Linked DNA regions of Homo sapiens: region 2 is linked to region 1. Evidence: promoter capture Hi-C in human tissues and cell types (Jung and others, 2019). All regions are on one chromosome and are shown on one strand. Each heading gives the region's core, a stretch centred on a gene start or on the middle of the fragment in contact. The rest is flanking DNA. Distances are from core to core; before and after follow the strand shown.

What was found. The method cuts DNA at HindIII sites, captures the fragments that hold promoters and counts their contacts. A contact is called where the count stands out against the background at its distance.
Region 2: a fragment that was not itself captured here is called in contact with the fragment with the promoter of CLCNKB in region 1 in 3 of the 25 tissues and cell types used here (aorta, dorsolateral prefrontal cortex and spleen).

Annotation. Positions count from the first base shown.
Region 1 is chr1:16,042,446-16,045,145 of GRCh38, reverse strand. It overlaps CLCNKB (chloride voltage-gated channel Kb), which reads right to left and starts at 1,364. Exons shown (of 20, transcript NM_000085.5): 1 at 1,266-1,364; 2 at 554-660. The coding sequence starts at 653. The HindIII fragment of the contact is 23,589 bases long and covers 1-2,700 here.
Region 2 is chr1:15,930,186-15,932,885 of GRCh38, reverse strand. It overlaps SPEN (spen family transcriptional repressor), which reads right to left. Exons shown (of 15, transcript NM_015001.3): 11 at 1-2,700. Among named protein-coding and RNA genes, the nearest start is that of ZBTB17, 45 kb to the left of the region's middle. The HindIII fragment of the contact is 3,713 bases long and covers 1-2,700 here.

The sequences.
Region 1 (2,700 bases), core at 115-2,614:
TCTGGGTCCCCAGCAATGCTCCTGGCCCACTGGCTGCTAGCCCAGCCTGGGAGCTGGCCCTCACTGGCTGTGGGCACCAGCCCCTGGGGTTGCAGTCAGCCTCCTTCTGTGGTCCCTACTTGCTCTGCCCCGTAGCTGAGGGGACAGTCAGGTCTCAAAGTGAACAAAGCACATGGGGCTCCAAGGAAAGGTGCCAAGTGTAGGCTGCCCCAGCCCCTTGCTGTGGCCCCAGCTGTCCCAGCAGCTAACCCCCACGTCCCCTCATTGGCACAGGTAGGTGAGGGAGAGGCCTGGGTGGAAGATGGGCACAGTGACCAGGCCTTGGGCTGTATCTCCCGAAAGGCAGAGGGCAGATGCCCGGCCCATCTGACCCACAGACAGCTGGACAGACAGACCCCTTCCCTCCCTGCCACCCAGGAGACTTTGGGCAGTCATGTCCTGGACAAATGCCAGGAGGAGGGTGGTTCCTGGGCAGGGAGGTGGGGTGGGAGCTGGGCAGGAATGATGTCCTGAGTGGTCCTCCAGGGGGAAGGGAAGAGGACCTGGCTCTCACCTCGGATGCCTCGGCGGATGCGGGGACAGGGGCCCCACAGCTCCTGCAGAGTCACAGGGTTCCCTGAGGAGCCTTCACGCAGCCCCACAAACTCCTCCATCAGGCCCCTGGAGAAGCGGATAGAGGGAGGGACCGCGGTGAGCTGCTGCACGTCCTCGCACTGCCTCTAGGCCCTTCCAGTGCTCTCCCCACCCATGAAGAGGAAAGATTGTGCGTGTGTGTGTGTGTGTGTGTGTATGTGAAGTTATCACACTAGGTCTGTGTGTGCCTTCATCCCTGAGTTTCCGTCACTGAGGGTGTGTGCCTGTGTGTGTCATTGTGTGGGATGGGGGTGGGATTCCTAGGTGTCCCCCTGTGTCCAGCAGCAGACTGGGCACAGGCCGGAGCCCAAGCCCTGCTCAGAGCCCCTTCCCCTTCGGTGGCAGCCGCTCCCACCCTCCTGGGTCACTTGGCGCTTCCACTGCTGGGAGCAGTCTCTGCCCAGGGCTGTGACACTCTCACTGCAGAGTCCCATGGATGGCTCTGACTCTCCCTGTCCACCTATGAGCACCCCTGACCCCAGCTCAGGCCACAGAGGCAGCAAAACCCCAGGCCCAGAAGAAGATCCCACCAGGGCCAAAGTGAGGTGCTGGCTCCTGCCCTTACCACCCCCCCCCCCCCGCCCTGCCTGTCTGGCCCTGGCAGGCCCCAGCATCTTGCAGCGACCCCTCACCTGTCAGTCCTCCTGCTGTGGCTGAGCTGGCCCTCCTCTCACAGAGCCTCCAGCTCCCCTGCACCTGGACAGGTGTGTGTTCCAACAATCAACATCCTCCCCCCTTTCCCGCCTGGGCCCAGGGTTTATGGCGAACACTTAGAATGTCCTTGAAAACCGATCAGAACTGCCCAGGCCGGAGCAGAGCAGAGCAGAGCTGCCAACAGGGAGGGGAACAGGAGCCTCCCCACCCACCATAGCTGCACAGAGGGTGGTGCCCAGCTGTACTCAGGCTCCTGGGTGCTGCTGGACGGGGGCTGGGAAGGGGGAGCTCACGCACACAGCAGGACAGAGAGGGGTCATCTGCCAAGGCTGAGGCTCAGGGTCCAGGGGTCTCAGAGCTGGACATGGAAGGTTTGGAAAAGCACAGAGGGAGAGGGGAGGAGGCTGGGCAGAGAAGGAGAAAGCAGGCCGGCAAAGGTGAGTGGGGCCAGCATGACCACAGCCTCCCTGTGTGCCAGGTAGAGAGTCAGCCTTCCCCTAGATTAATTACCCTGAGTGCCCACGGAAATCCCACGAGGCAGGCAGCGTGATCCCGTTGTAGAGAAATGGTGTCTCAGGGAGGTGGGGCTGCCCGTCTAAGATCACGGAGGCCGAGGCAGCGCCAGGATTCCCAGCCCAGGTTTGCCTGGCTCCAAAGCCCGCAGGCTGTGCCACACGGTCCCATCCTGATGACCCATCTTGTCCAGGGCTGGCGAGGAGGCCGACACCTGGGGCAAGGCAGTGAATTGGGGTCAGGAACTCAGACTTGATCCTGTGTCCAGACCCTCCAGGCTCAGGAAATGCCTCTCAAAGCACACGTCCAAGGGCCAGCGGCTCTGGTGGGGACTTCTGGGTAATTCCACAGAGTTTGTCCCACCCCAACAGAGGATGGCAGCACAGGTGTGAGGGGACATGGCGAGGAACAAGCACGTGCCGTGTGCCTGCAACGTGTCAGAAGCGTCACATCCGCAGCTCAAGTCCTCCTCCCCACACCCTGTGAATGGGGAGAGCCTCGCCATTTTGTAGATGGTCAGAGAGGTGAGTCACTCATCCAAGGTCACACAGCAGAGGCTGAACCCAGCCCCACACTGTGCAGCTCTTCCCCTGCCCAAAGCTCCTCCAGCTCCTGAGGCTGAACCAGGGCAATGGTTTGGGCACAGAACAGAAGAGTTGTGTCTGATGCCACTTTGGGGCAAGATGTTGGGGGCAATTGCCTCCAGTCCTACCCAGACAAAGCCACTCTCTGAATAACATGATGGCCCTTGGATGATTGTTAAAATCTGGGACCCTGGGCCACCCTTTGCCCCTAGATGCCAGGCAAGTCAAATCAAAATTGAAGGTGTGTGTTGTGGGAGGTGGGATGGGGGTTGCCGCTCTGCATGAACCCGAGCCCACCTTCATCTTGGCCACCCTG
Region 2 (2,700 bases), core at 19-2,518, 110 kb after region 1:
CAGCTCTGTTTCACTTGCTTGGTGTGCAGGCTTGTCCCTGTCCTCTGGGGCAAGGCCCTCTGGTGCATCTGCCTTATAGGCAGCAGAGGCAGAGGCCTCAGCGAGCTTTGCGATGTGTTCCACGGCCTGCTCCAGCTCCATCTGCTTGGCTAACTGGGTGGCTTCTGGGGACGGCCCAGAGGCAGACACGTCTTCTTTCTCTGGTTCCTTGTCTGGATCAACTGGATCACTTTTCAACTGGGATGATAAACCATCCTCCTTTTGGGGACTCTCACTTTTCTCAGGGGAGACTGCCACCACCCCAGATTCCCTCTCCCCTGCCTGTGCTGCAGCCCCCCTGGGACTGACAGCAGCATCCACATTTTTCAGACTTGCAGATTTGTCCACTGCTAACCTGGAGTTTCGAGATCTTCCTCTCTTTGATTTGGAGTTTTTTTCAGGGGCCGGTTTTTTCTCTACAACTTCAACAGGGGCGGTTTCAGGGGGGTTTTTGTCTGTGCCAGCATCTTTTCTGTCACGTTTCTGTTCACTCCCTGCCTCCTCCTCAGCAGCCTTGGGTTCCATGGAGCTCTCTTTCACGCCTATTTGGGGGCCCACCTCAGTGGTGGCCTCAGGACGTGTAGCATCCACCTTCGGTTCATTTTTTCCCTTTTTCCCTTGGGGTCCACCACCAGCTGCAGTTTTCTGGGACCTTGGCGACCGCCATCCCTCAGGTGGCTTGAGTGTTTCTGCAGGTTCCTTGGCCTCGTTCTCCTCCTCTTCATCGGCTCGCCGGCGTGTCTTTGGAGGCCTTCCCCTCCGAGGGGTGGTGGGAACCGCTGCAGCCTCCTGAAGCTCTCGCTCCAATCTCTTTCTGGTCACTCTTGGTTGCTCAACGGGCTCTTTGACAGGAGAGCGGTTTTCATGGTCACCCATGGTTGCATAGACGCTCCTTACATTCCGGCGCCTTGTTCGGCTGAGAGGCAAACTTGGTTCGGGATGTTCAAGGTCTGCAGCAGAGTTTTTAGAAGCAGTCCTTGTAATCTTCTCTGCCTCCATCTTCAATTCCAAAAGCTTCTGTGCTTCTCCCCGAGGAGAATTGGACCGCTTGAGTTTTTCCCGGTCTATCCTCTCACTCTTCCTTGTGACGGGCTTCTCCACGATACTCACTGCAGCTGCCTGAACAGGGGTCTTTGAACGCTTGCTTTTGTTTGGCTTTTTATCCTTTGCAGCAACTGGAGGATCAACCTCTAAATCTTCAGAAGCTGGGGGCTGAGACTCAGGAGCAGCTTCGGCTTTCTGGTTTGCATCAGGCTCAGCATCTGCAGTGGCGTCTGGCTTTTCGGCCTTTGGCTCATTGGCTTCCTCAGACTTCTGAGCTGGTTTTGAAAGTGGCTGGGTACTGTCAGGCTCTGGATCTACGTTGCTCTCTGCCTGGGAAAACGAGGCCCCGGGAGTTGGAGGCTTGGCATCCAGATAAGGCGGCTGGTCACCTGATGAACCTTCCTCAACACCCGCAGGCATCATGGCAGCTTCTTTATCGGGGTCTGCTCCTGGGGGCAGGTCTACTTGTTCCAGCTGTTCCACAGGGGCAGGAGCAGGTTCAGATGCAGGCTTTGCTTCTTCTGAGACGGTAGCTGGCTCCACAGTCTTCTCTTCTGTTACCAAAGGCGCCTCTACCGTTTTGTCACCAGTGGTCTTCTCTAGTGCTGATGGGGCTGATTCTAGAGTTACGACTGTGACACTTGGAGGCCCAACGGAAGGTGGAGTTTTCAGTTCTGAATCTTTATTCTCAGGAGCAGATTCTGGGGTCTTGGGATGATTCTCTGTATCTTCCTGTTTCTCAACCTCTTTGGGTTTCTGGTCTTTTTCTTTTTCTTTCTGTTGCATCCGTGTGAGCTCCATAAATCTGCTATGGAACAGAACTACTGGTTCTTGAATGGAATCAGTTGTGCTGTTTGCTCCCTCAGATGTCTGCTTCCCATAGATCCTACCAGAAATGAAGTCAGAATCTTCCTCTTTTCTCTCTAGATGCTGCAATCGCTTGGAATCTTGTTCAAAGATTGAGCTGTGTAAAAAACGAGAAGCAAACAATTCCTGCCTCTCTTGCTCTTCTTCTTTATGGTCCTCTTTCTTATCATCCATTTTCCCTTCTGAATCAGTCCTAATTTTCTTCTTTTTCATGTACCAGGATGGAATAGGTCTTGGAGCAGAGTCAACCTTTTCTTTATCTTTGTTGTTTCGAAAATTTGCAAATCGGGAGTCCCAATCAAGAAAAGACCAATTTTCTTCACGAGATGAAGAGAGGGATTTAGCTCTTTCAAGCAAAGCTTTAGTGTCTGGTGTGATTGTCTTATCCAATGCAAAAGAGTAAAATTTGTTCCTTTCTAAAGAACTAGAGAGTCTTTCATCTCGCTCACGTAGCTTGTCTTCTCTGTCCCTCAATAAAAAAGACAATCGAGAACTTTCATATAATGCAGAGGCTCTGGGTGAGTGGGATTTGTGTTCACCATCTTCGTCAGAATCAGAAGGCACCTCACCAGGTTCCAGATCTCGTACAGACCTTTTTCGAAGGCTATCTCTCTTAATTATGCTGTTTGGGAAACTCACATCAAATCTGCCAGCATCCTGTTTCATCTGAGAGTCCCAACGATTTAGTTCATCTTCAGAATTCAAGACAGATAGTTTTATTTTGGCCATATCTGCCATCTGTTCTCTCCT